5 separate regions of the Homo sapiens genome follow, and all the other regions are linked to region 1. Evidence: promoter capture Hi-C in 16 types of primary human blood cells and fetal thymus (Javierre and others, 2016). All regions are on one chromosome and are shown on one strand. The core of a region is centred on a gene start or on the middle of the fragment in contact, and the rest is flanking DNA. Distances in the headings are between cores, read along the strand shown. Region 1 holds the start of CNTLN (centlein). Region 2 overlaps CNTLN (centlein). Region 3 overlaps CNTLN (centlein). Region 4 overlaps CNTLN (centlein). Region 5 overlaps CNTLN (centlein).

What was found. The method cuts DNA at HindIII sites, captures the fragments that hold promoters and counts their contacts. A CHiCAGO score of 5 or more calls a contact.
Region 2: a contact is called between a fragment that was not itself captured here and the fragment with the promoter of CNTLN in region 1, in 3 of 17 cell types (erythroblasts, M2 macrophages and megakaryocytes). The highest score is 8.6, in erythroblasts.
Region 3: a fragment that was not itself captured here is called in contact with the fragment with the promoter of CNTLN in region 1 in 4 of 17 cell types (erythroblasts, monocytes, megakaryocytes and 1 more); the score reaches 8.2 in erythroblasts.
Region 4: a fragment that was not itself captured here is called in contact with the fragment with the promoter of CNTLN in region 1 in 1 of 17 cell types (erythroblasts); the score reaches 6.4 in erythroblasts.
Region 5: a fragment that was not itself captured here is called in contact with the fragment with the promoter of CNTLN in region 1 in 1 of 17 cell types (erythroblasts); the score reaches 5.2 in erythroblasts.

The regions. Positions count from the first base shown.
Region 1 is chr9:17,131,278-17,137,393 of GRCh38, reverse strand. It overlaps CNTLN (centlein), which reads right to left and starts at 2,354. Exons shown (of 26, transcript NM_017738.4): 1 at 1,969-2,354. The coding sequence starts at 2,328. RefSeq lists an enhancer at 1,510-2,073. The HindIII fragment of the contact is 13,995 bases long and covers 1-6,116 here.
Region 2 is chr9:17,383,389-17,389,504 of GRCh38, reverse strand. CNTLN (centlein) reads right to left here. Exons shown (of 26, transcript NM_017738.4): 14 at 1,252-1,343. Among named protein-coding and RNA genes, the nearest start is that of SH3GL2, 190 kb to the left of the region's middle. The HindIII fragment of the contact is 925 bases long and covers 3,403-4,327 here.
Region 3 is chr9:17,358,705-17,364,820 of GRCh38, reverse strand. All of the region lies in intron 12 of CNTLN (centlein), which reads right to left. Among named protein-coding and RNA genes, the nearest start is that of SH3GL2, 220 kb to the left of the region's middle. The HindIII fragment of the contact is 2,300 bases long and covers 2,502-4,801 here.
Region 4 is chr9:17,337,779-17,343,894 of GRCh38, reverse strand. It overlaps CNTLN (centlein), which reads right to left. Exons shown (of 26, transcript NM_017738.4): 11 at 2,947-3,068; 12 at 1,451-1,570. Among named protein-coding and RNA genes, the nearest start is that of CNTLN, 210 kb to the right of the region's middle. The HindIII fragment of the contact is 4,742 bases long and covers 482-5,223 here.
Region 5 is chr9:17,298,734-17,304,849 of GRCh38, reverse strand. All of the region lies in intron 7 of CNTLN (centlein), which reads right to left. Among named protein-coding and RNA genes, the nearest start is that of CNTLN, 170 kb to the right of the region's middle. The HindIII fragment of the contact is 2,216 bases long and covers 1,747-3,962 here.

The DNA of each region.
Region 1 (6,116 bases), core at 1,105-3,604:
ATATAAAAGTGAATATTTAATCACCTAAATGCTTTTTACAAAACAATTGGGAGTTCAATTACTATTTTTCCCCAAGATTCCCGAAGAGCAGGAGTCTGATTTGACTAAGATTTTTATGGTGCGGGATACTGCCTACAATTATATAAGAGTATTAATATTACAAAATCTAAGAGATCATCATTCTAGACTATTATGACCATCTCTGTATTCTTACATTTGCCAAGAGTATGTCAATCATTTTCCTAGTCTATATATGTCCGAGGTCACAAAAGCCAACACCATGTTTGGAGCCACATTTTTAAAGAATGTAAGTATTTGTGGGAAGAGGTTCATCAGGCTGTTTCCAATAGACTGACTTCCTTAACCAAGTCGGTCATAAAAAAGTATCTTAGCTCTTTAGCCAGCTAAAGGCCTAACTATGTGGGGAGGCAGAAGTGGGAGGAAAGAGTGCGGAAAATATGCCAAAGAGTGTCTTAGATTAGGACTCAGAGTATCAAAGGCCTTTATCATGGGTTCACATCTTAAAACTCCCCAAAGGGTGAGGTCTGCAGATGACAAATGCTTCAATTCATTGTTGTCATTTATTTATCCCTTTGCTCCTTATCCAACGAAGAACAGAAAAATGGTAAAACGAAAAGAGGGCACCATATTAAATGTCCCAACCTTGTTTAACCAAAGGCACATTCAATTTGAAGATGGTCCCATTTTTACACCCTTCACTCAGTCAGCAAGGACCTATAAAATGGGCAAAAGAATCCAACAGAACAAACTATGAGAGAATGAATTTCTGTAATCCCAGCACTTTGGAAGGCCAAGGCTGGCGGACCACGAGGTCAGGAGATCGAGACTGTCCTGGCTAACACGGTGAAACCCCATCTCTACTAAAAATACAAAAAATTAGCCAGGCGTGGTGGCGGACACCTGTAGTCCCAGCTATTCGGGAGGCTGAGGCTGGAGAATGGCGTGAACCCGGGAGGCGGAGCTTGCAGTGAGCTGAGACTGCACCACTGCACTCCAGCCTGGGCGACAGAGAATGAATTTCATGAACTGTTTTATTAAACTGATGATACTGTTCACAAAGTTACTTTGATGTTCAGCAGCTCCTAATTGGTTTCTAAGTTGAAGACAGAGTGACTTAAAGATCTACTGTTCAGTGAGTTTCCCACATCCAATCTCCCAACCCTATCTAAAGGTTCTGGTAAAATCAAAAGAGATGATGGTAAGGATGCAAAACTAAAGGAAAATTCAATCTCTTTGAACATGAGTATAGTCAAGTCCATCCTTACAAAAACTCTACAAACAGGAAAGTAATTTTAATGCAATTGATTTAGCAAATGTTTTTCACTGGCAAGATCACATGAAAATGTGATTTCTCACTCAAGGACCGCGGAATTACCATAGCTGGTTAATAAACAAGTACCAAGCATCATCTATTGTTAAGTTCCCGGCTCTGAGACTTTCTAAACGTTACTCGTCTGTGTTTACAACTTAAGTTTGACTGGGTAAAAACAAAGCCAAGTGTGGGTTTGAAATTTTAAAAACAGGCTCCTTCATCGATGGATTTTACTCTAACCGAAGTGTTTACACTTTCCTGTTCATTTCAACTAGTGGACTGCATGTCACTCCTGGGCCCCCGGCAGGTATCAGCTACCGTCACCACCAAGAACTTGGGCTTGGGGGGGAAGCGGAGAGGATGCGACTGCGAGTATCCAAGTGACCAAAACCAAACCCGGGCGCGGAGGCGAAGCCTGTCTGGCCGCAGTTCGGAAAGGGGCAGGGGCCCGGGTTTGGGGAGCCGGGCGCAGCCGCGTCCCTCCAGCCCCCGGCCGCGAGCGAAGCAGGGTGTGCATCTGCCAGGGAGCGTCGCTGGGCGGGGTAGGTCCCAAGGCAGAGGGAGAAAGGCGCGCCTCCCCACGGGTCCCGGCCCCGCTGTGGTGGGGAAAGGGGGACTGCGAGACTCCTCGATACCTGACACAGGGCCAACTCCTCCTTTAGGCTGCTCAGCTCTTCCTCCAGCAGCTGCGTCCGGGTCACCATCGCCTCCTCTACCGAGATGCCCTCTAGCCGTCTGGACCCCATGGGCGCGCTGAGGAGGGGAGCATGAGCCGGAGCTGCCCCCCCAGGCCCTCGCCGGCCCCCTGACCCTTCTTCACCCACCCAGATTTTATCACTTTCGTCCGCGACCACCTCCCGCGCTGCGCCGGCAAAACCCGAGGCCTCGCTGCGCATTGCGTGTACTTCAGCTCCCCGCCCAACACGTGGGGACCTGGGGCCCAGCTGTCGCGCTGGGGGCGAAGGGTGCGGTGAGGGAGGCGAACGCGCCGCCATGGCTGCGGCTGCTAACGGGTCAAGTTCCCTGTTGGAAACTCCACCTCCCTTTCCCCAACCCGGCGAGCCCGGAACGCCGAACCGCGCATGCGCGAGGCTTTTCCCGCCTTGGCCCGCGGTGTCCCGTGTTCTCTGGTCCTGGCCGGCTTCCCGCGGGCAATGCGCCCAGCGCGAGCCTTGGGGTACGCACGCGCCGTGGCCCGAAAGGGTAAGGCCGGTCCGCCGGGCAGGCCATCCCAGCGTCCTGTGCCTGAGTCCTTGGCCAGGATCGCCTGGATTTCCCGCCCACCTAAAGCCCTGCCTGCCACTTACATCCCACCTCTTAAAGCCTTCCTTGACAAGCCCCCAGCCCCAAATGATCCTTAACTGTGAAATCCCTCTCCTTCAAGGCCCCTGCCAACTCGTGTGACACGTTTCATTGACCGCCCTGGAGTGTCAGTTACACGGCTAATCTCCCCAGCCCTGTTGTAAGCTCCTTGAGGATCAAGGAATACGTTTTACACTTAAGTGTTTTCTTCACACCCCTTGGCAAAACTGCTTTAGTACAGCTGACATCCAGCTGACTAATGTCAAGGAGATGTGGAAAGCCTTGTGCTGATCTGGGACTATCAAGCAGGTTTCCAACTTGAATGATGATCCTTTGTACACCCTTTGTCTTTTGTTTTGCAGGAGTCATGATTTCCTTTGAGTTTTTATGTCAGCTTCTTTATGCGTTGGCTGGATATCAGAGGAAGTGTAGCCCACATTGCTGAACAGTTTGGGTCCTTGGAGCAGTTTGAAATCAGTAATTTGGAGCGTGGATGAAGAAACAAGACCTACTTTATCTTTTGTTCTCTTTTTTTTCTTTTTCTTCTGGCTTTCTTTATAAACTTCAAATAGGTAGTAATCGTATCTTTCTTTGCCCTTCAAATACTTTGTTACTATTGATAAGATTAATGAGATGCATATTGAGCTGGCACCAGAACATCCCTGAAAGTTAGAACTGCCCTCTTCTTCAGAAAGGGTTCCAGAATACTTGGGGAAAGCTGAGATGGGGGTTGAGAGCAGAAGTAGAGAGATGACCACTTTACTGTTAACTTCATTTAACCAAAATATCACCATCTCTGCATGAGAATCTAGTCAGGATGCCAAAAGACACCCTCCCAATTAGAATCCTGCCAAGGCAACCAAGATAAGTGGACTTCTTTCAAACTGAAGGTGAATTCCTCACAAAAACTTATTAAAGAGTACATTAGAAAAAGTATGTTTATAAGCCTGTCTTAGAACTAGCTAACCTACTGAACATTTACCATATGCTGAGTCCAGTGCTAAGCACTTTTCATATATGAACTCACTTAATACATATGTCACCTTCAATTAGATTATTATATATCTCCATTTTTACTAGTGAGGAAACAGACTTGCAAGGTTACTGTAACTTCTCTGAAGTGCCATGTCTGGTATCAGAAAAGCTAGGCTTTGAATTCACTGAATTCCACTTAACTCTGAAAACCTGTACTTTGATCGCTACCCTGTCTCCACACCTGTGACTTGAAATACAACATTTGGTCTTGATAGTCTGTGAGATTTCACTAGACTTAAGACTGGGAAGTCTAACCACATAAGTTACGTGTTTGGCCCCAAATCAGTATTAATGCACATTTTTAATTGCTGTATGTCATTCACTCAAAAGGACATCATTTCACCTGATCATAAAAAGATCCTTTTGAAAAGCAGTGGTATAAATATGTATATGTGACCTCCCAAAAGGATAATATCCTGACTCTTTGACTAGGCATTTTTTTAAATTTTGTCTTTATTGGAGCAAAATACACAAAATACACAACATAAAATTTACCATCGTAGGCATTTTAAATGGCTACAAATAGGCCAGGCGTGGTAGCTCACGACTGCAATCCCAGCACTTTGGGAGGCCGAGGCTGGTGGATCACTTGAGACCAGGAGTTCGAGACCAGCCTGGACAACATAGTGAAACCCCGTCTCTGCTAAAAATACAAAAATTAGCTGGGAGTGGTGGTGCATTCCCGTAATCCCAGCTACTAGAGAGGCCACGGCAGGAGAATCATTGGAACACGGGAGGCAGAGGTTGCAAACAGCCAAGATCATACCACTGCACTCCAGCCTGGGTGATAAAGCAAGACTGTCTCAAAAAATAAATAAATAAATAAAATGGCTACAAATAAAAAACAATTCAGCAGCATTAACTACATTCACCATGTTAGGCAACCACCACCACTATCTGGTTCCAGAATATTTTCATCACCGGAGGCGGAAACCACATACCCACATTAGTCTCTCCACATTCTCACTGCCCCCGAGCCCCAAGCAACCATTAATTCCCTTTATGTCTCTACGGTTTTGCCTGTTTGGGATATTTCATATCAATGGAACCATATAATATGTGGCCTTTTGTGTCTGTTTTCTTTTATTAGCATAATGTTTTCAAGGTTCATCTATGTTATGGCATGTATTAGTACTTCATTCTTTTTTATAGCTGAAAATATACCATTGTATGGATATCCTCCATTTTGTTTATCCATTCATCTGTTAATGGACCTTTGGGTTCTTTCTGCCTTTTGCCTATTGTGAACAGAGCTGCTATAAACATTCACGTACAGGTTTTTGTCTGAACATTTATGTTCAATTTTTTGTTTATATACCTATGAGTAGAATGTCTAGGTCATATGTTTAATTTACTGAGGAATCACCAAACTCTTTTCCACAGTGGTTGTGTCATTTTACCTTCCCATAAGCAATGTATTAGCATTCTAATTTCTCATCATCCTCACCAACACTTATTTTTTGTTTTAGTTTTGTGTCATTTGCTTTTTTTAAATTATACTTTAAGTTCTAGGGTACATGTGCACAACGTGCAGGTTTGTTACATAGGTATAAATGTGCCATGTTGGTGTGCTGCACCCGTTAACTCATATTTACATTAGGTATATCTCCTAATGCTATCCCTCCCTCCTCCCCCCACCCGATGACAGGCCCCAGTGTGTAATGTTCCCCACCCTGTGTCCAAGTGTTCTCATTGTTCAATTCCCACCTATGAGTGAGAGCATGCGTTGTTGTTTGTTTTTTATGGCCAGTCTAGTGGGTGTAAAGTGCTGTCTCCTTGTGGTTTTCATTTGTATTTTTCCCCATGACTAATGACAATGAGCATATTTTCATGTATTTTTTGGACATTTGTTTCTCTTCTTTGGAGAAATATCTATTTATTCAAGTTCTTTGCTATTTTTTAATTGGGTTATTTGTCTTTTTGTTGTAGAGTTATAAAAGTTCTTTACTGGCAGACAATTTTTAAGAAAAGAAACGTGCACATTTCTAGAAGTATGCATAAGGAGTTCTTTCTTGTATTAGTTATTTGCTGAAATGACAGAAACGGATGAAATGTTAAATACAAACACTTATGACTCAGAAGGATAAGTTAAATATCTGCACTGCTATGTGAATAAAAATGTGCAAAACAATCAAGGTGTTTTTCCTGTTCAACTCTTTGTCCTAATATTTAAAAGTGATAGTGTCTGTTCTGAAGAAATACATAATGAAGTCTGCTGAGGATTAAGTATATTAGAATAGAGAAACACATAATTCTCTCAATATCATCACTGTATAGTCGAAATCTTGGGAAATAATGGAAGAAATGTGCCAATTAATATGGTACTTAAATTGCCTCTTTTACTTTAATTTTTAAAATTTATTTTTAACTTCTGTTTTAAAAGAGAAAAAATGTATTAGCCGTTTCTCAGCCTTTATGTTTCTTTGTTTCCAGAAAGAATGAAGAA
Region 2 (6,116 bases), core at 2,616-5,115, 250 kb before region 1:
TCTACTATTGTAGCATTCATTTATGGCAGATGGAATGAAATAATGGCTTTCTTCAGGGTTTCTACCCTAAGGCAAGAAATAGTAGCATAGTATTACATATCCATAGATACAAAAATTATACAAAACCTGGCAAATAAAAATATTGTTCTGAAAAAACGGTGATAAGCTAGTGTGAACTGTATGACATCCTAGCTGGTAGTGCATAGATTAATTCAATTAATCATTTTACCTAAAGATAAATGAATGTAAGCATTTCTAGTTCTCTGTGTTACTATGTTAACTTGATATGTGTCATTCAGTAATAATGAGATGACAGCCTTTGTGACCTGACAAGTGTTAGAAGTATGAACAATCACATTATCTGCTGTAAATCACTAGATTTCCTACAAGTCAATTCAGAGATGCAACAATATATAAGTTACTATGTTAATATTTTTATTTATATATTTGTACATTTTCAGCTTTATCTAAGTATTAAGGTTCTGTAAAAAACTAAAATCAATCTAATGTAGCCAAATGACAATCACAAGAACAAACTATTTAAAGATTATTTTCTTTATAACAAAGTGTTAATAATTAGATCCACTTAATTGAACTTGATAACAATGTATTTATTTATAAAAATGCAAATTAAGTATAAAATTATAAAGGTAAATATTAATATTTTAAAACAGTATTTTACTATTAATGATAGACATGTTATAATATGACTAAGGTTTACATGGATGATCTTATTAAAACATAAAATGCTGTACTAAATCATACTGGTATAAATTTTTATCTAAAATGAGAAGAGTCACGTATATTTTCATGTTTAACATTAAAACTATAAACATATTACCATTTTACTGTGGCAAAACTATAACTATGCTCAGTATTTTAGATCAAATATTATAAATCTCTATATTTGTGGAAGTACAGCAGTCTTATTAAAATATACTTTAAACTAAGTTATAACTAACAAGCACATATAGTCTACATTTCTGTAATTTCTATTTTTCTCATTCTCTCCATTTCACCTTTTGAAAATAATGTTAATCTACATCAATGGAAGCACAAGTGTTTACACATTTATTTCACTAACATTGATTTTTTTTACCCCATTTTGGCAAGCCAATGATTTTGAATTATGAATTTAAATTAAGGATTCACACAAGGTTTACATTTACAAGCCCTCGTTTTAAAATATAATCCTTTATGTTAAAATTCAGATTTAACTTGCTCAGCTCAATATCTTAAAGATTAGACTACCTTCTGTAATGTCTGCTCCAACATTTCTTTTCCATTCTTCTCTGGAGTACTCCTCTTGACCTCATCATCTTCACCAGATCTAAAGAGCTGTTCTGGTAGAGAATAAATAATATATTATGATACCACGTGTACTGCTGAAATACTGTCCTGTCATTTTAAGAAAAAGGGTTCTATGGTTTTTCAACTGTGAATAATCTAGGCTATTTTCTTGTCAAGTATTTGGCCAGTAACTAAACAATGACCCTTTTCAAGATTTTTAGCAACATAATTATGTATCTTTGTAGTGCCACCTTTTTTTTTTTTTTTCAGTATAAGATTTTTCAAAAGTACAATAGATCTTCAGGTTAACAATGCTACACTTTTATTCCTATTTTCATTCTTTTGTAGACTATTCCCCCTTTGCCTTAAAAGCAGAATTCATTACCTTTTTATCTACACAGTCACTACTAGTTTTGTTCTCTGGATCTTGTTCCCTGCCAGGAGGATCACAGTGATTGCTGAACAAAGCAAACAGTAACAGAATTAGGGTGGATTGAAATTGTAACAACCCCTACCACAACCTTTTTTTCAAGTGAAGGATCATGCACTGGGTGAGGTAAACCATACAAATCACTCTTCTAGAAATACTGTGACTTCATAACAAATAGAAAGCTAGGTATATGGGTGAGGTTATAGCTACAAATCATTCCTACACTAGCTATACATTTGACTGCCAAAACCTTTTCAACCAAGCCAAAACCTACAAGTAACTTAACAACCTTAAAGAAAAAACAAAGTCATAAAACTTCAGTTAATACTAAAATCAAAATATATCAAATCCTATAAATAACTTTTTTCTTATCAGATAAATTACTATGACAAATTTTACTAACATTTTCTTAGTGAATTAATTCTGGAATATAACATTTCTTAAGGAATAAAAAGGGGACAAAAAAGAATATATAAAACTAAAAGGATATATATCTGTGTTAGCCTGAGATTATTTTGCTTTAAAGTATGCTTGGCTGCTGTAGGTCAGTGTAAAACTTTGATTTCTCAACAAAGGAAAAAGAAAACAATATTATTCTCTGTAGAGTAGAAATCCTCCTGGTATAAACAGTGACTAACAAGTTTGTTAGAGTGAATTAGGCATTTCTTTTGTCTTTGAAAAATGACATACCCAATTAAAACTTCTGTACTTATGAAATAATTAGAACAGTATCCGAAGGATAATAAAAGCTAGGATAGGTAGAATTTGCCACCTGGGGAATAAGTACCTTTACCTTGATAATAATCTATCAGTTCCCAAGTTTCTTCTTCTAGTCCCCTAACACCATGGTGCTGAATTCATTTACAGCAATCTTTCAGCAGTATAGAAATAATATGCAAATACAATTCATCCTTTCTAGTCATTTAAATATCTGTTATACTTCTGAGTGAAATATTTCATCTTAAAAATAATAGTTCTATATTCAAAGAGCATGGGATGCCAACAATAGCTAAATACTTCCAATAAAGTAAATGGTGAAGACTGATTTAAAAATGAATTTGTGTGCTGCTTGTTTGCTCCTGGATGTGTGTGAGGTCCACTGGTAGATTGGCTAACCATGTTCACCTGTACTTATCTGCTGACGTTTGTTTCTCCCCTTCACCGGTTTATACAGAACGCTCAAGAAGATAAGCTCATGCCATGGAAAGAAACAAGGATCCAATTTTCTGGCCCTTGATTCTCTTTCTCTTCAAGGATCCCAGGATTTGGGAAATAAACCAACAAGACCTAGTTAGAAATACACACTCCTATTTCTTTCCTATGGTAGATGTGAGCATATGCTTCACTTTACTGGAGATTTATTTTTGATATTTTAGTTTTAAATGCTTTACTTTTACTAGTATAAACATTCATTCTAATTTATATTCTTTCTCAGGAGTTTCTTCTCTCCATTTTTTCTTTTTCTCATTAACCTTTAATTTTGCTTATTCATAGTTATTTAAGAGCTTAGTATATTCTATTTTCTATATTTTTTCTTTTAATCCTCTTGGCTTAAATAATTAATATAAAGTTTTCTGCAATCTTTTACTTTGTATTCTTTTAGATTCTTTTTTTTAATTAATTTAACAAATGATTTGAAAAATCTATTATCATTGTTTTTTCCCTGATCTTAATATGAAGCTTCATACAAAAAGTTTCTTAAAGGTCAGTTTGTGATTATATCAATTTGAGGGATTAAGAAAGGAAAACAGTTATCAACTTATTGTATGGGCAATTTCCTAAAGAATATTGCTATTTTTATTTCACTTTTAGGAAAAGAAAATGAGAATCATAGTGGGTAGGTTTTACTTCAGAAGGTACTTGTGATACAATAAGAAACACATACAGTCGTTCCTGTTCCAGGGACCTTCCTGGGATACCTAAATCCAACCATGCTCAAGTCCCTGATGTAGCATTTGCAAATAACCTATGCACATCCTCCTGTATAGTTTAAATAATCTCTATATTACTTATAATAACTAATACAATGTAAATGCTATGTAAATATTGTTATACTACATTGTTTAGGGAATAACAAGATAAAAAGTCTATACATGTTCAATACAGATACAATTTTTTTTCAAATATTTTTGATCTGCAGTTGGTTGAATCCAGGGATGTGGAACCCGTGGATACAGAGGGTCCACTGTATTTGGATTTTGTCCCCAGTTCCTGAAACATAGTTTCTAAAACCTTTGGAATTTCTTGAGTAATAGGACCATCTTTTGTTATTACAAGCAAAGCATAACAAGCTCCTTTCAACCATACCAGAGTTTATGCTTAATAAGATGATTCCTGGTGAGCCCCTAGATAGGTTCAAGATGAGGACTGGCTGCAAGAGGAGGCAACCATGTGATTAGATGGTTTTAACGTCCAGCCCCACCACCAGGCCTCTGCAGAGGGGAGAGGAAATGGAGACTGAATTCAGTCACCAATGGCCAATGATTGAATCAATGATGGCTACTTAATGGAAGCTCCATAACAAACTCTGTGGAGTTTGGAGAAATTCCAAGTTGGTGAACACATTGAGGTGCTGAAGGTGGCATGCTCAGAAAGGACACAAAAGCTTCCTTTTCCTTCCTCCATACCATGAACTATGCAACTCTTCTATTTGGCTGTTCCTGAGTTGTATCCTTTATAATAAACAAGCAATAGTAAATGGAAAACTTTTTTGAGCCATTCTAGCAAATTAACTAATCTGAGGAAGGGCTCCTGGGAACCCCCAATTTAAACTCAGTTGGTCAGAAATACAGGTGGAAACCTGGGACTTGTGACTGGGATCTAAAATGGAGGCAGTCCTGTGGGACACAGTCCTTAATCTGTAGGGTCTGCACTAATTCTAAGTAGCTAGAATTGAACTGAATTGCCCAATTGGAGTTTAGAGAAGCAATGAGTTAGTTGTTGGGTGGAAGAAAAAAACCTATAAAATTGGTGTCAGAAGTATTGTGAGTAAAAATAACTCTGAACACTGTTTCAGATAAGTGAATTGGGGATAAATAGGCAATAATCAGCAAGAACTGCCATGAAAAAGTTTTTGGTTTTTGTGTTAATTTAAAATTGTTGTCTTAGGCAAAATAAAGTCAGATCAGCCAACTATAATTAGAACCCATCTCCTCCGAGAAGTAACCATAAGCCAATGAAAACTGAAGTCCCATTTCTGATGAATGAAATGGCAAGAAATAAATCCTGTTTCTGATGAGTAGGAGAGAATTTCAATCACTTGATATGACTGTTACACTTGGCACCTCTTTCTGGAGACCCAGACCATCCCCTTTGAGTTTACCTGGGCAGGAGGCCTGGGAAGAATCTATTCAATCAGTGAAAATTCAAAGACAATTAGCCCATTTTTGTTACCAGCCACAAATATTCTAAAAAGGAAGTTACCAGGACGATGTAAGTATCTTTTTCTAGGACGAGAGGTAGGAAAACAGAAGGATAAGTAGTTTTTTTTTTTTCATTTTATTTATTGTAAATTACACCCAATAAATAGGCTTCCTTGCCTTAAAAATAAAATGTCTTTAAGCTGGGGACTTGATGAACTCGATCCTATTAGCTCGCTGGATGAATCAGGGGAATTTGAACATGCTATCTTTAATTCCTCTAGCTAGCTTGAAAGCCATGTGTAACACCCTCTTTTTATTTTATGCTATTCCTTAAGCCCACACTTTTAAAATATTTTAGACTGTTTATTTTCTACTTCCAAGTGCTTCATTATATTTTAATTTCGATCTTTATATTTAAATGAATTAGCTTTGTGAAGTTTAACATTGTAACTGTGTTTCTGATTTCATATAAATTTCATGTTACGGGCCGGGCAAGGTGGCTCACGCCTGTAATCTCAGTACTTTGGGAGGCCGAGACAGGCAGATCACGAGGTCAGGAGATCGAGACCATCCTGGCTAACACGGTGAAACCCCATCTCTACTAAAAATACAAAAAAATTAGTCGGGCATGGTGGCAGGCGCCTGTAGTCCCAGCTACTCGGGAGGCTGAGACAGGAGAATGGCGTGAACCCAGGAGGCAGAGCTTGCAGTGGGCCGAGATCACGCCACTGCACTCCAGCCTGGGTGACAGAACAAGGCTCCATCTCAAAAAAAAAAAATTCATGTTACGAATTACTTCTTGCAATTAACTTTTGTTTCAATTTACTTTAATATTTCTCTATATTCCTAATACTCCTTTGGCTTGTTTTAAAAATAATTTTTTTAATTTTAAAATTCCCATTTTTTTTTAAGACAGGGTCCTGCTGTATCACCCAGGCTGGAATGCAGTGGCGTGATCTCAGCTCACTGTAACCTCCGCCTCCAGAGCTCAAGTGATCCTCCAGCCTCAGCGACCCAAGTAGCTGGTAGTACAA
Region 3 (6,116 bases), core at 2,402-4,901, 230 kb before region 1:
ACAAAAACTGGACATATGGCCAGAGTATACTGGAGGGTTCAGGAAGACACAATCATCCCTAAAGGGAGGCTTCCACAACTAAGAAAATGTATGGGAGAAAAGCCACCACAGAAAATAATTCTCGAGTCAAGCATGGAGACAATAAGTATATAAATAAGTTCAAAGCCATGAATGACAGTCTAAATATCCCACTGCCCAAAATGGGATAATGTAAAACAATAAAATAGAGATAAGAGAATAATCAAAATTACTTTCACCATTAGAGTTTTTAAAATGTTTTTAAAAAGATAAAGAAGTGATAAACATATATTAAAAAAGAACAGGGGTTTATGAAACAGAAAATAGACAAAAATAATCAAATAATATATCTAAAAATATGAAATAAAGCAATGAAAATTAATAATAATAACATAATACCAGAAATTTAAAACTCAATGGATGGGTTCAATAGCAAGTAGAAAAAGCTAATGGAAATTGATAAAATGGAAGAGAGCAGAAGGAGGTAAAGGAAGGAAAACAGTAGAGGTATACAAAACATGTTGCAATAAGAAGTATAGAAAGCATTTAATAGAAATTATTCAAGGAGAGAATTGAAAGACTGAAGGCAGGAGTACAGATGGGAGATAACAGTCAAAATATTAATAGCTCAGGATTTGAGAACTGATGAAGATATGAATTAATAGCCTTAAAGAGTATCAAAAAATTGCAAGAAGAGTAAATAAAACTCTGTTCACACTTAAAAATGTCTTAGTGAAACTTCAGGACAACAAAGATAGAGACAATCTTTAAATGAACCAGATTGAGAAGAAAACACTTCTAACAACTAAAGATCTCTGGAATAACAGCAGAGTTCTCATATCAACAAACAAAGCCAGAAGGAAAATAATTAATATCTTTCACATGCCAAAGTTTACTACTCATAGATCCTAGATGAAAAAATCATTAAAATATATATTTTAAGAAGAAAATGTACTCAAAAGCAAGGTATAAAACAAAATAAGCAGTGATGAAGAAAGACACTAACAGATATATACAAGGAATTAAATAAACATTTATTATCTAAAGCAATCATAGCAATATCTGAATGAGCTAAAATAAGGTAGAACTAACATTCTCAACAACAAAACGATATTGGATCATCAAAGATACCATAGTTAAACATTTCAAGGTCCTTGTATTGTAGGAGGATACAGCTAGTGATGAACTTTAGACTTTGTCAAATAAATGATGTATGTTATAATTTCAAGAATAATTATTTAAAGAATAAAAAATAAATATAAAAAATAAAAATTAGAGGTCAGAAGAGAAATGAAAAAAAAAACTGTATCAAATCAAAGGCAAGAAAGTCATTTTTAAAAAGGAGCATAAGTCAAAACTACAATGAGATACCATCTCACGCCAGTTAGAATGGTGATCATTAAAAAGTCGGGAAACAAGAGATGCTGGAGAGGATGTGGAGAAACAGGAATGCTCTTACACTGCTGGTGGAAATGTAAATTAGTTCAACCATTGTGGAAGACAGTGTGGCGATTTCTCAAGGATCTAGAACCAGAAATACTATTTGACCCAGCAATCCCATTACTGGGTATACCCAGAGGATTATAAATCATCCTACTATAAAGGCACACGCACTTGTATGTTTGTTCACAATAGCAAAGGCTTGGAACCAACCCAAATGCCCATCAATGATAGACTGGATAAAGAACATGTGGCACATATACACCATGGAATACTATGCAGCCATAAAAAAGGATGACTTCATGTCCTTTGCAGGGACATGGATGAAGCTGGAAACCATCATTCTCAGCAAACTAACAAAACAGAAAACCAAATACCGCATTTTCTCACTCATAAGTGGGAGTTGGACAATGAGAACACATGGACACAGAGAGGGAAACATCACACACTGGGGCCTGTTGGGGTATGGGGGACTAGGGGAGGGATAGCATTAGGAGAAATACTTAATGTAGATGATGGGTTGATGGGTGCAGCAAACCACCATGGCACGTGTATACCTATGTAATAAACCTGCATACTCTGCACATGTATCCCAGAACTTAAAGTATAATTTTAAAAAAAGGAGCATAAGAAAATAAAACGTGCAAGAAAAAAATTAAAAATAAAGATAGTCATCACACAATGATCAAAAATGATTTACCAGGAAAATACATTAGTTCTAGACTTTTATGTACTCAACAACACAAGTTGTTGTAATTATTGTTATAATTATTCAAACAATAAAAAGTTATTTGAAGTAAAAATTAGGTAGCCTCTCCTTCCCCTCACTCAGTATACTTCCTGGAAAAAAAATAATGTTTACACTTTGATATGTATACTCTCATTTTTTGTTCATATATTATAAACATCAATTCACACACATAAGGATTTTAAAAACTGGGATCCCATGATATATACTGGCAGCTTCCCAGGTCCATTACAGATTGATAGGAGGAACACATACACATGCACACACATACACTCAACCACACAATGATTAAGCTTGGATTAGGTTCCTGATTTGTTTATTTAAGAACGTGGAACATACTGAAGCAAGATGGCCCCACAAAGAAAAAGCAGGTGTAACTTACCTCAACTTAGTTTTCCTTGGCTCTCAGATCACTAACCCAACAGAAGGTAGGGCTGCAGTTGTTGGAAAAGTTATTTCTTGCTTCTTAAAACATACTTTATACTTACAGCTTGTTTCTTTTGGAAAGAACACACACAGTCCCTACTTTTAATAAATATTTACAGACATCAGGGACCACCTTGTTCTTGAGTCAAACTAAGCACCAACAAACCATATCTTACTGTGTGTTTGAGGGAGGAGCTGACAGAGGCAGAGCCCTGGTACTCCTGACCAGGATGAGCACTGACTAGCTACTGACTCTGATTTACTATCCACTTACACTGGTGTTTCTTATACTCTGGTATGAGGACCACAATTTAAAATCTATTTCTTACTGGACAAATGATAGGAAACAACTGTATTCGGCCACTGGACAATAGGCAGCACAGAACTGTAATCCCTGAGAGAAAGCAAATAAACAGAGAGAGCCCTTAATGATGGCTCGATTTCTGCCTGAAAGCACTTTCCAGACAGGGAGAGGGGTCCCAAGAAGAACATGACAGTCTCATTGAGTTGAAACAAGAGACTGCAGTTTAGGAAGTCTAAAACAGCCAGAATTTGTGAGGCATATGACCAAGTGAGGAGGAATCTACAGTGGAAAAAAGCTAAAGAAATCTGCATAAGAATTCCTTTGAGTATGTGGCTAATCTTTATTTCTTTTTTTGCATGTGCATAGTATGAAACACAACAAGGCCAGGCAAAGAACAACAGGAGCTATAAACAGAATATTCCCAGAATATTTCTCACACAGGATTGGGATACATTTGAGTTGCGACCAGTCAGAGAAGAGAGAATCTTAGTTGAACATCAGAGGCATTCAATAGAGAACACAGATGGGTCATTCTAATGAGTAGAGATAAACAAGCCTCTAGTAAATGATACTCTAAAACCTGTGCTAAAAAAGTGTTTTAAATGAACAATGAGAACACATGGACACAGGAAGGGGAACATCACACACTGGGGACTGTTGTGGGGTGGGGAGACGGGGGAGGGATAGCATTAGGAGATATATCTAATGCTAAATGAGGAGTTAATGGGTGCAGCACACCAACATGGCACATGTATACATATGTAACAAACCTGCACGTTGTGCACATGTACCCTAAAACTTAAAGTATAATAATAATTTAAAAAAATGGAAAAAAAACTGAAGATATTTAAACTGAGATTTTAACACACCTCTCCCAGTAATTGATGGAAAAAGTGGACAGAAATAAGTAAGGATACAGAACATTTGAAAAACACTATCAAAAAACTTGACCTAACTGAATGTTTTATAAAACACTCCATACCCAACAACAGCAAAACAAATATTCTTTTCAAGTGCCATGGAACATTCAACAAGATAAGACCACATGCTGGGCTATAAAACAATTCTCAGTAAAGCTAAAAGCATTTTAAAATCATGCAAAGCATCTTCTATGACCACAATAGAATAATAAAATTAAAAATAAATACCAGAAGGACGTCTGCAAAATCCCAAAATAGTTGAAACTAAAGAACCTATTTCTGACAAAGAGGTTCTGCTTAACCAATCTTTAGTCAACTCTCCTGAACCTTCTCCTAAGCCCATCTGTGCACTTCCTTGTAAAATCCAGTCTTAGCAAGGAACTCCACTAAGTCAGTTTAGCAAGAATCTCTTCCACCACAATATATAAATCAAGGCCAATATCTAACTGGGTTCCTCATCCTCCACCACCCCCTAGGCTGTATCTGATCACCCTAGCCTGTCTTCAATCAAAATCCTGATAAGGTCAGTTTAGCCAGAATCTCCCTTCCCACTGATGTTTCCTCTTACTAATTTTCCAATCCACTGACCTCTACCTTAGCTATAAATTCCCACTTACCCATGCTGTATTAGGAGTTGAGTCCAATTTTCTCCCCAACTGCAAAATCCGACTGCAGTGGTCCCTACCTATGATGATGGTCCTAAATAGTCTTCTTTACCAAACTTTAACAAGTTTCATTGAATAACATTTTTCTATAATGCTTCTAAACAGTTCTACTTTCAAAGAAGAATCCAAGAGGAACTAGGAATTATTTTGAACTTAGAAAAATTTAAAATACACTTCAAAATTTGTAAGGCACAGCAAAAGCAATCCTTAGATGGATATCTATATTGCAACATACAATACTTAAATTGGAAAAAAAGAAATATCCATAATGATGCAAGCTTCCAATTTAAAAATCTAGAAAAATAAGACACATCAAGATGAACACTTTTTCATGTGCTTATTGGCCATTAGTATGTCCGTATGTCCTCTCATTTGTTTATTTTTATTATTATTTTTTTTTTTGAGACAGCCTCACTCTGTTGCCCAGGCTGGAGTGCAGTGGCAAGATCTCGGCTCACTGCAAGCTCCGCCTCCCAGGTTCACGCCATTCTCCTGCCTCAGCCTCCTGAGTAGCTGGGACTACAGGCGCCCGCCACTACACCCAGCTAGTTTTTTTTTTTTTTTTTTTTTTTTTGTATTTTTAGTATAGACGGAGTTTCACCGTGTTAGCCAGGATGGTTTTGATCTCCGGACCTCGTGATCCACCCGACTCGGCCTCCCAAAGTGCTGGGATTACAGGCGTGAGCCACCGCACTCGGCCTGGATGTCCTCTTATGTGAAATATCTGTTCAAGTGTTTTGCTCATTTTTCTATTGGGTTGACTGTCCTTTTCTTATTTAGTCACAGGAATTCTTCATATATTCTGAGTACTACTACTTTCCTGGACATATATACTGAAAATATCTTTTCATACTCAGAAAGTAGCCTTTTAATTCGTTTAATGGTATTTTTTAATGAACATTAAGTTCTTGGTTTTAACATAGGCCAATTTATCAATTTTTCATTTCTATTTAGTGCTTTTTATGCCTGGTTTAAGAAATTGGGCAGGTGCAGTAGCTCACACCTGTAATCCTAGCACTTTAGGAGGCCAAAGCAAGTGGATTGCTTGAGCTCAGGAGTTTGAGACCAGCCTGGGCAACATGGCATAACCCTATCTCTACAAAAGTACAAAAAATTAGCCAGGCATGGTGGCATGCGCCTGTAGTACCAACTACTTGGGGGGCTGAGGTGGGAGAATCACTTGAACCCAGGAAGTTGAGGCTGCAGCAAGCTGAGATTGTGCCACTGCACTCCAGCGGAGTGACAAAGTAAGACCTTATTTCAAAAAGAGAGGGGAGGGGAGGGGAGGGGAGAGGAGAGGAATAAATATTGGCCTACTACAAAGTCACAAAGATGTTCTCCTATGTTTTCCTCTAAAAGCTTTACTGCTTAACCCTTCACATTTAGACTATAATCAATCTAAAACTGACTTTTGGGTTTGGAGTTGGCTAAAATATTCTATTAAATAGGTTTTTTTGGAATTTTAGCTATGTAGCTACATCATCTGCTATTTTGGTTGTCTCCAAATTTCCATAATTACAAACAATGCTGTAGTGAGCATTCTTGTATATGTGCTCATATACAAGATTCCTTTTAGTGTTTCTAACTAGAAGTAG
Region 4 (6,116 bases), core at 1,603-4,102, 210 kb before region 1:
TGTAAACACAGGAAGAAGATTAGTAGTTTCCTAGGGCTGGGCAGGATGGATGGGAGGGCTGGGGAGTGACAACAAAGTCATATGGGCTTTGGTGGGGAGAGTAGCGGGGGGTGATAAAACTGTAAATCTAAAATAGATTGTGATAATGGACGGTGCAGCTCTGAATATACCAGTGAATTATATACGTTATATAAGTGAATTGTATGACTTGTGAGTTATATTTCAATAAAGCTACTGAAATTATTAGGAAATGCCTCTGAGACAAATCTATGAGTCTATAAAATAGTTTTCAAGATAAGAGCCTTCATTATAGCATCAAATATTTAGAACTAATAGAGTATACTGCACTTTAAGTGGTAAATGGGAGCATACAACATTTAAATCTCATATGGTCTAGTCATTTCCTCAAAAGTTTATCATTACATGGAAAAGGCTGTAAACAAAAGTTATACATGTTATCATGTAGTATATAAAATAAGCTTCTCATTTACAGCTAAGAAAATTCAGTGACATTTAATTACATTACACCATAATGAGGCTATATTCTAGCAATCTGAAAGACATCTAGGCTTTAAAAAACTGTATGCTTGAGTGTCAGGCATTAACTCTAAATGAAGAAATAGTTAAGTAGCAGAAGAGGTTAATTATATTGGTCTAACTCCTTTTAGTCTTAAAATTAAATAAATAAATGTTCTTTCTTTGCCAGGCTGAATATAATAGCCTGTGAATTATAAGATCAAGCGACCAACTGTATGTTTTCTAAAATATGAGTATCCTTCATCAAGTTTTATACTTAGGGCAGCTAAAACACCTATGTGGAAAAATCAGCAGTAAGCCCAAAGGACAGGCAGGGCACAGCAAGAAAGAAGGCAATTCCCTTGTGTCTTCTGCAGGTCACTACCAAGGACCATGTTAGCAGATCCACACCAGACCCTTAACAGGCAGTTCTGCTGCTACCAGTAATTAGCTTGGACAGCTCCAGCTCCAAGAGTAGCAGCAAGGCTACACCATAATGAGCTCAGCTGGGATTAGCAGGACAGGGCAGGGAACCAAGAGAGCTCAGGCATTCTGCATTGCGTATGTATCTAGGAGATCAAACAAGGATGGCTGGCTAGGTTATCCCCTCTCCACCTCATTCCAAAAATGAAGCACGGCAGCGTCTAAAATACAGGCTAATGAAGAGCGACACCTCCAACAGATGAGAGCCACACTAATTAACACAATCCCTAGATCATATTATCCAGTTTCTGTTAGAGCTAGCAACTGTGCAACTTGTTATTGCATAATACATATATATATTTTTAAAAGCTAGTCTTTTTTTCTTTACTTTTATTGGCAAAAATCAGATTATTTCAAATTTTATAAAGTGTTTCTTTAATAGCTTTTAAGCCATGAAAAAATTTCTCCCAAGTATTTTATCTAAGTCCATATTGTTAAAAATGAAACTCACTTTTGAATCATTAGCTCCTGGTTTTCCCTTTTGAAATATGCCAGTTCATTCCACACAGCGTCAGAATCTTCTTGTCGAAGTTGTTGGGGATCTGCTCTCTTTATTTTCCTGATTTCAGTCCTATTTTTAAAACAAAGTTGCTTTTTCAATTAACATGTCTGAAGTGCAATAAAAATTATTTTATACATTCCTTAAAATTTAAAAATATCTATTGACCAAATTTCTAACTCGAGTTCACCATTTATTGAATGAATTTCCTAAAACCTAAGCATGTAGAAATCAAAACCCTCTATCATAATTTTTTGAAGCTAAACTGCTACTGTGGAAAGCAAACTTTTAAGCAGACACATGATATTCTAAGGTCTATTGCTCCCATTCAGTCTAGTAGTAATGAAAACAGACACTGTAGAATTTTAACGGTCCCCCCCGCATACAAAAAAATCTATATGCAACCAACTCATCTGGAATTTGCTGCTAACCAAGATGAATGTGGTACAGATGCCTTTATCTTTTAAAAAAACTATTACCAGTGAATATGTCAGAAAGTAGATTTCACTCTTCTAATGATTAGTTAAGCTGGGTGAACAGAGGATAAATCTAGGACAAACTGCTTTATCACTGCTTTACTGACAAGTGATACAAAACACTTCCACTCATCAAAGAAAAAAATTAGATGTGACAATTATCTACAAGTGATGCCAAATGCCCTTTACATTTTCATTTTCTGAACATAAAACAAATTCTTCATTTTTATTTTGTAAAAGTGCCGTACTGGCCAATTTAGAAACAGTATTTCTCTACAGAACAGACCAATGTGTATCATCAACATTGCCCTAAAGGATCCATCTCAAAAGATGAGAAGGTAGTAGATTTTCTGTACTCATTCAGTCCTTTGCCCTCTGTTGATACAGTTAACAGGGGAGCCACTTACGACTAACCAAGATCTGAACACCTGTTCAGAGCAATTGAACTGAGACCGCCAATTCATTCACATAAGCTGGAGAACAAACTGATGGATAGTAAAGATCTTCAAATTGCATACTAGGTTGAAGTAGTTTTAAGATAGTTAACTATATATGTGAATTTCATATTTCTCTAGTCTTTCCACTAAAATTTAAATACTTTTGGAGTTATAAACATTTTAACACCAGTATTTTATTTATTTAAAAGCAAGTTTTTCAATCACACGGATATTAACCATTTTTGCTTTAAATTACATAATTTTATTAAGTTATTCCATTGATATTAAAAATGTGTACAATAATTCATAATCATTGACTGCTAATGATATCTGCAAATGTGAGGAAAATCTATAGTTATTACCAACACATTCCTCTGTTTTAATTTGTTATATTCTCCATTTAAAAATTCACAATAAAGATTTGACTACCAAATAATTTCTTTAAAACCAAACAAAAGCCATTAAGACACCTATATAATGCTACTCCATTCCATTTAATATTTAGGGAAATGCCTTTATGAGCTATGTAACTCACATGCCACTGCCTTCTTCCCACTGTTTTAATTGCTCTTTTACTGCTCTGTAGTTGGTCTGTAACATCTGTAGCCGTTCCTTGCGTTTTTCATGGGCATCTCTTAGCTCATCATTTTCTTGGCTCTGTAGAACACAAAAAAGCAAGTATATATAAGTTTGAAGAAAGTATTAATATAATGTTTCAAATAAAAGGTTACCCATCTAAATATGAAATTTGAAAGAAAATAGTGTGTAAACATAAATGAATCTGTAATATGTATTTAAGCAGAAAAAAGAATTTCTCTAGTCACAGAATACATTTGCTTGATAAATTCAACTCAGTCAATGCATTTTTTAAGCTGCTCACATAATTTCAAAATTTTACCATTAAGATAGTTTCACTCCTTTCCCTGTTGTTAATTAGTATACATTCATAAACCTATCTTACATGTTTTTAATTATTTTCTTTTTCAGCATAAGGTTTTATCTATACATAAACCATGATTATTTTATTAAAGTGCAAATATAATTAGTATAAGAACATTAATCAGAGTAAGAACAATTATTTAGCACATGAATTCATAACTAATATTTACTAAGGCACAAGGATTACACATAAGGAAGAAAATGAGATTGGACCCTATGTTAGAAGGAGCATAGTTTAACCTTCTGGGGTTGTACCATGAAGAACTGGAATGGGAAAGCTAGGCTTACAACTCTTAAAGAGGTTATAAAACAAGCCATCCAAACATTGCTTTGTTGTGTCAATACCTAGGTTAGACAATTATAGTCAACTACTTCTTTTTTATTTATTTTTATTTTTCTGGAAACAGGGCTTCCCTCTGTGGCCCAGGCTGGAGTTCAAAGCTCACTGCAGTCTCAAACTCCTGGGCTCAGGCAATCTTCCCATGTCAGCCTCCCAAGTAGCTAGGACTACAGGCATACAGTATCACACCCAGCCAATTTTTTATTTTATTTTTGTAGAAACAGGGTCTCACTCTGTTGCCAAGGCTGGTCTCGAACTCCTGGTATCAAATGATCCTCCTGCCTCAGCCTCCCAAAATGCTGGAATTACAGGCATAAGCCACCGTGTGTGGCACAGTCAACTACTTCCAATATATAGCACATGAGATCAATTTTCATTTTTAGATATATATAAAATGAATTTATAAAGACGAAATTCTTAGTCCTCAGAAGATATATGCACATGACTATAAACTGTGTTTCTCAAAGTAAAATAAGTAACTTCTCCAGTTTCTTCCCTCATGAGAATTTCAAATATTTTAATAACTGTTATTCATATTTCTGTATGAATGAACTTGTATACTTATGTGGTGGAGGCAACAGATACTCTCTAATATTATAGTGAGGTGATATGAGTAGGCATATGGTAATCAGAAAGATCTGAATTCCATTCTTGGAGCTTGCTCCTGTTAGTGGCATTATCTTAAGAACACCATTGAAATTAATTCAAGTTTTTTCCTGCAAAATATGGAAGAGAAAAAAGAGGTTTAAATTTTGATGAAATAAGTTAACCTAGGTGGTGGGGCCCCAGCCCTTTTAAGGACACAAAGCAAAAGTTAGCTTCTTTCAGTCTCCTTTTCCCACATGTTAACAGTGATGCCCTTATCTTTTAGAAACCAAGTAACTGTTTCTTGACCTCTCATCTAAACAGTGAGATAATACTTTATAGAGTCTGCATTATTTTACTGCAATTCTAGCTGTCTTAGCAGTATGGGTAGTCTGTCATTCTACTTTCACTATATTTCTACTAGGATAGTTCTCTTAAGTAGTTATTAAGAAGTATTTGAGTCTTGTTTGTAACAAGAAGTGTTCTATATGCCGTACAGAAATGAAAGTGCTTGATGAAAAAGCAGAATGGATTCAGTTGACAAAGGCATTCAAAATAAATGTTTCCTAAGTAGTTTTAGAAGATATACAAATCACACATAATGCAAATTTGCTAAAGTAGGATAGTTTAATATATGAAGTAAAAGTAAAAACCTCAGGTTACTGAGTTCAATTTTGTTCATTTCAATTTAAGAACCATACATGAAGAGTCTATTACACGTAGGATGCTGTGTTGATAAGAGTTCAAATCTAGCTGCTCAAAGTTAACTAAATTTTACTTTGATCTAGTTACTTAAATTCAGTTAACTCAGGTTATCCATCTTCAAAATAGAAGCTATTTATATCTCTTCTTCTAAGACATAGAGAATAATTTAGTCTTGAACTTGAGTTTTTCATATTAATTTGGTTAACAATCCAAATACTACTTAATGTCTTTGAACAAAAAGCTTTCTATTGTTAAGTATGTGAAATAAATAATTTAAGTTAGCAAAACAAGAGATTAAAAATTAATAATGTTGGTACCTTCTCATATATGAACATGAGTTAATTATGTTTATTGAGATTGCTTAAAAACTAGAAAACAATATTAGTGATTTCAGCAAGACATATTAGAAATTTATTAATAATTTAATTATAAGAAATTAATAGGCTGGACACAGTGGTTCATGCCTCTAATCTCAGCACTTTGGGAGGCCGAGCCAGACAAACCACTTGAGGTCAGGAGTTTGAGACCGGACTGGCCAATATAGTGAAACCCCATCTCTAAAAAAAAAAAAAAAAAACAAAAATTAGCCAGGAGTGATAGCAGGTGCCTGTAATCTCAGCTACTCAGGAGGCTGAGGAAGGAGAATCGCTTGAACCCAGGAGGCAGAGGTTGCAGTGAGCAAAGATGGCGCCACTGCACTGTACTACAGCTTGGGCGACAGAGAGACACTCTGTCAAAAAAAAAAGAAAGAAAAAGAAAGAAAGAAGAAGGAAGGAAGGAAGGAAGGAAAGAAGGAGGGAGGGAAATTAACAGACTATATTGGAAGAGATTCATGTCAAAACATAATTTCAAAAGAAACTTAAACTAAAATGTGTATCTTATGTTAAAGACTTCTATGATAGCTTTCTATAATTATTCTTCATTGAATCAAAGTTCTTCCCTCAAACTCTTATTTTACAATGACTTTCTTAAAAATTATTATATATAAACTGTTTGGGGAATGACTAAAGTTTTTTGTTAGAGTCATCAGAAACTGAGTAAATAGAACCTCAAAGATTGACCAAGATGTGAAAATAAATAGAATAGGATGTACAAATTTTCTCAATTACTTTCACAATGATTCTCTGTTAAATTCA
Region 5 (6,116 bases), core at 1,605-4,104, 170 kb before region 1:
ATCCTCCTGTATACTTTAAACCATCTCCGGATTACTTATAAGAATGAGATGGAATCTACCCAGTGTTTACAATGTAAACACTATGTAAATAGTTGTTATACTTTTTCTTATTAATTTTTATTGTTGTATTGCTATTTTTCATTTTTTTCCCAAATATTTTCAATTCAAGGTTGGTTGAATCTGTGAATGGGGATATGCCCTATGGATACAGAGTGCCAACTGTATTTGCAACACTGACTGAAACAATAAATTCTTCAAGTGAAAACTGTACTATTTATAGCCAAAAATGACAACACTAATTTAACATGTAATTTAATATGCTAACTCCTTATTTTCCTAGTTAATAGTTTGAGTAATATTGTCACTAAATAGACCAAAAAGTTATAAAATACATGTTAGTACCCCAACCATGTTGGATGGTCTAGAAATCATAAATGCTGATATAATTCCTTATCAATATTTAATTCATACACATATATAAAGGTGCAGATATAAAAATATTAAAAATTGTATGAACGGCTACATGCTCAGAGGAAGAGAACACATTAGATTACTTTTATTTATCTTGATAGGTGTTTTTCTCCTAGAAAAGCCTTCCACACTATATGACTGGTAGACTTGTATATGAGACTGATGATTTGTTACGGAGAGCTCTGGGACAATATGACTCACCTCTGTGCTCAAAACTTTTTTCAGTTTTCTTTCTTCACCTTTGTCTCCCCTCCTCAATTCCCACATCCTACCACCTGGGACAACTGTTTTCATCTTTTCAGATAATTAAACAGATATTATGATACAGATCTACTTAATAAATGAGAGAAAGAATGGGTAATGTAAGGGCAAGAAAAAGGGGTGAAGAATTGAGAGAAAGAGAACAGAGGAAACAAACTTCATTAGAAACAGTAAACTAAGATCTGATTCTTAAAGAAGTTTAATAAGAATTGAAGACAAATTGTTAGTGTAATACTTTTAATTCAACTCACCTGAGTCTTAGAGCTAAATCCCAATTATTATTCGAAAATATTAAAATGAATCTATGTGAAAATGTTTGAAATTTTGAATAAATAATTTCATCTCATTATTGCAAGATTATTCAAATTAGAAAACAATCTAAAAATATGTGTAGACAAGGAATAAAGACAATACATATAATGCTCTAGAATAAGAATGAATAATCTGACATAAATGAACACTAAAGTATGAACAATAACACACCTGACAAATAAGGCAATGTGATCATTCACAAATTTTAAAATCCTGCACTACACAACTACTACATTTTTGAGGAGAAAAAAAAAGCGTTAGTAAAAAATCTTCAGAAGCTCAAAAAGTTAAAAAGTGTGATGTAATAGCAAGATAAAAGAAACCAAATGGATACAATCAGGAGAAACAATGGCCAGAGAAAAATGATGGAAGCCCTTTTCACAGAGAAAGGTAACTGCTATACTCTGGTCACCAAAAAGAGAGCAATGAAATCTTCTGAATAACATTTAACTTAGATATCAGGATAAATATTCCAACATTAGAAATTATTAAGTGTTGAAAAAATTTGGATGAGAATGGATAATGCAAGTTTGTAGAATCTGTTTACCGAGGCTTTTAGGGATAAGACCTCACCTTTCCATTTAAAACTGAACTATACTGTTGGCTTTATAATAAAGTTTAAGAATTGCATTCTGGACCCAAGATTACCTAGATCTGAATTCTACACAGGTAGCTGTTTGACTTTAGACAACACTCTAAGCTTCAGTTACCTGATCTACAAACAGGGATAAAAATAACAATACCACATCAGGTTGGTGCGAGGCTTAAACAATCAGGCAAAAGCCCTATCGCCAGTGCCTGATACACAATAAGCTAAAAAATGTTAACTATTATTATTATATGGTTACTAGGAGCAATTTACATTTTTATCTCGATTTACATAAAACATTTCTAAAATAATTTGTGTAAATGGAAACTCAGATTCTCCCTGGCTTATAGTACAATTTTACATTCTGTCTTTATAACTGTGATCTAACTGGAAGGACTTCTCACTTGTATTTTGTTTCTCCACATTTTTCACCACTGCAGAACCATTCATCCACCCAAAGTCAAACATTAAATGGACTAGAGTAATATTTAAATTAAAATAGAAACATCGCCATAAAGTTTTAAAATACAATTATGATTTTTAAATTGCATTATCCAAAGTGGGACATCATAGCATGCAATGTCTCAAGTTTCAGTAACTTAACGTTTACTGATCATGTAGTAGGCAGGTCCCCTTAGAATCCATGACCCCCGTACATTCTTATTATGGCATAATTTTAAAAGGGTATGTTATGTACGAACTAATTAAAAGTGAATTGGGCCAGGCACAGTGGCTCACACCTATAATCCCAGCACTTTGGGAGGCTGAAGCGGATGGATCACCTGAGGTAAGGAGTTCGAGACCAGCCTAGTCAACATGGTGAAACTCAGTCTCTATCGAAAAGTACAAAAATTAGCTGAGTGTGGTGGCACGTGCCTGTAGTCCCAGCTACTGGGGAGGCTAAGGTGGGGGAATTGCTTGAAGCCTGGGAGGCAGAGGTTGCAGTGAGTCGAGATCGTGCCACTGCACTCCAGCCTAGGCAACAGAGTGAGACACTGTCAAAAAAAAAAAAAAGTGAATTGCATATGGTTAATATGATGTTATAGCTTCATAAAAGGAAGTCTTCCCTGGGTGGATAGGTCAGTGTGTGTGTGTCTGTGTGTGTGTGTGTGTGTGTGTGTGTGTGTACACATATGTGTAGTCAGTACACTATAATGAATAGTAATAGTCTGAACTGACAAAGAAATGTTTATTGCAGCTTTATTTACAATAGTAAAACAAATAACATATATAACCAACAGTAGAAAAATAAATTATATGACCATCTAAAATAGTTATATGTTATGATTTTTTAAAATATAATGTTAAAGTGAAAAATACTAGTGTGCTAACAAATATGTTAAGATGCATTTTTAAAAGTGAAATATTCAAAATGTTCACAGTATTTGCCTCTGGGAGATGGAATTATAAAAGACTTTGTTTTTTAAAATAACTACATACAGCCACCAAAACAATTGTAATGTCTACTAACTGTAGACAAAATTTATAAAGAATAAATAAATAAGAAGAATATTTTCAAATTGAGTCTAGTTGAGGATACTAATGAAAACTGTATGAACAACTACAAGCATCTAAAACAACTACAAAATTAAAATATTACAGTGGGAGGTACAATTTCAAAGTGAGAATCAACTTAAGTATCAGTGAAGCCCCCTACTCCCACACTCCCCAAGGTAATCTCTGAGAAACAAAAATAAAAGAAAAATGATATTCAATCTAGAGAAAGAAATGACAAAAAACAGACTAAACACAAGGAAAAGTAAGCCAATTATTAGGTTAGCACATCTCAGTTTGTTCTCTTTTATTTTTATTCTGCCTCAATATCATTCACAAACACAACATAACCCCATCATTTACATCTCTCATTTTCTATAATGATTCTTGGAAGGGATAAACATAATCCTAGAAGAAAAGTGTTTACGGTTTCAAAATGTACCCCAGATCACAATTTAGGTTACGGCAAGTTCGCCAAATAGGGGCATATAAGCTCTACTTCTCCCAATTTAGTAAAGACATACACTAGGGAATTTCTGGTTTGAACTAGAGTCCATTTGGAAAAGTTATCAGAAATTAATTTGTCTCTTTGATATCTTATCTTCTCAGCAAAGTATTACTGGTATGACACCATCAAGGAGAGCTTTCTTTATCCTTAGTCTTGGAACAGGCCCCCAGTTATGCTCCCATATTTCCCTCTACTACTATTACAACATACATCATTCTTTTCTTGCTTCTACCATTTAATGTCTGCTATCAACTAATTTTAAACTGTAAGAGTTGTAGAATAAAGGAAGTAAAATGGTATCTATGCAGATAACTGGGCAGGAAAGCTTTCAGGCACTGGAAGAAAGTATTACCTTGAAAGGTTAAATACCTGTTATGTTCAAGGAATAAAAACATGGTTTGTGTTGCTGGAGTGAATAAGAAAAGAAGGCAAAGATGAGATCAGAGAGGTAATGTAGAGTCGGAACATGTAGAGTCCCACAGGTTGTAGTAAGAACTTAGGTTTTTTATTTTTAATGGTCTGGGAAACCACTGGAGGGACTTGAAGAGAGCAGTGATCTGATTTGACTCACAAAGTTTTGGCAATAATATCCTGGCACCTATGTCAAAAGGCTTAAGATCAGAACAAAGAAACTGGCAAGTTACTGCAATAATCCAGGTAATATGTGATAGTGGCCTGGACAGAATGGTGACAGCAAGGGTGGTGGGAAGTAGTCGAATTCTGCACCTGTACTGAAAACATAAAAGGCAATAGCTTTGTTTTGAACACGTTCAGTATGAGATGCCCATTAGGAATCCAAGTGAAGAGATATTAAGTAGGCAATTAGATATACTCTTTCCTAGAGTATACAGAAGAGATCCAAGGTAGATAAACAAATTTACAAATTTGGGAATCATCAGCCTATAGACACAGGTAGAGCATACAAATCAAAAAATCTGAAATGCTCCAAAATCCAAAACATTTTTGAGCACCAGTATGATGCTCAAAGGAAATGCTCATTGGAGCATTTCAGATTTCAATTTTTCAGATTTGGGATGCTCAGCCAGTAAATGTAATGCAAATATTCCAAAATCTCAAAAGCTAAAAATGTGAAGCACTTCAGGTTTCAGGTTCCAAGCACTTCAGATAAGGGATATTGAACCTGCAGTGTAACTTTGAAAGTCAAGGTGATTAGATGAAATCACCTAGGGTGTGAGGATAAACAGAAAAAAAAGGAGAGATCCTAAGAGTGAGGCCTGGAACATTTTCACACTTTACAGGACATGGAGACTGGGGAGGACCACAAAGAAATTAAAAAGGGACAGCTAAAAACTGAAGGAAGAAAGCCACCCAATTATAGTACAATGGAAGCCAAGAGGGGAAAAAAATGTTTCAAGCAACAGAAAAAAAATGTTCCAAGCAACAGAAAGTCATCAATGGGGGAAAAAGAGAAAACAATTAATTAGTATTAATAACAATTAACAAGTATTAATAAAGTACAGTGTTTCAAATCATTTTAGCAATGGAACGTGCTTTAGAAACAAAAAACACAGTGGGCAATGTCACCCCATAAAACAAAAAGGCAGCACTGCTCTAGCTGAAGTGGAAGACTGTATCTTCCTGCTTGCTATCATCTAGGTCCTTGGGAAAACACAAAGGCAACACAAAACACACACTGAAAACCACTGTTACAAAGCATCATTTAAAAATATGTGTTTAAGTTTTAAGGTAATTAATTTCATGTTAATTATAGACATTCGATTTTCACAGTGATTTTTTAGAAAAGTAAGATCAGAAGTAAAAATCCAGTAATTCTAGAGGGATAATATGAACTGTGTATTATTTAACCTCTCTAAGCCTCACTTGCCTCAACTACTATCATTAAATGAGAATAACACTATATAAACTACATTATTTATTAAAATAATTTAGCACACTACACAAAACATATGAAGAATTCAGTAAAGGTTTTTTTTTTTTTTTTTTTTTTTTTTGAGACGTTGTCTCCCCCTGTCGCCTGGCTGGAGTGCAATGGTGCGATCTTGGCTCACTGCGACCTCCGCCTCCCAGGTTCAAGTGATTCTCCTGCCTCAGCCTCCCAAGTAGCTGGGACTACAGGCATGAACCACCATGCTCAGCTAACTTTTTGTATTTTTAGTAGAAACAGGGTTTCATCATGTTGGCCAGGATGGTCTCGATCTCTTGACCTTGTGATTCGCCCGCCTCAGCCTCCCAAAGTGCTGGGATTACAGGCATGAGCCACCATGCCCGGCCAATAAAGGTATTTTTTTTAATTAGTAGATTAAATTATTGCTGCTGAGTCAGTTAGCACACCTAAATACTTGGGTAAACCTTCTTGAAAGGCTCCTAAAACAACTGTAAAGTAAAAGACTACTGAACAGAAACACACAAAATAAACAGAGAAAAATCCTGGAAAATATTGATCCTAAAGCCCTCCTCAGCAATCCCCTTTGTATTTGTGAAGATTTGCCGAAAAATAAT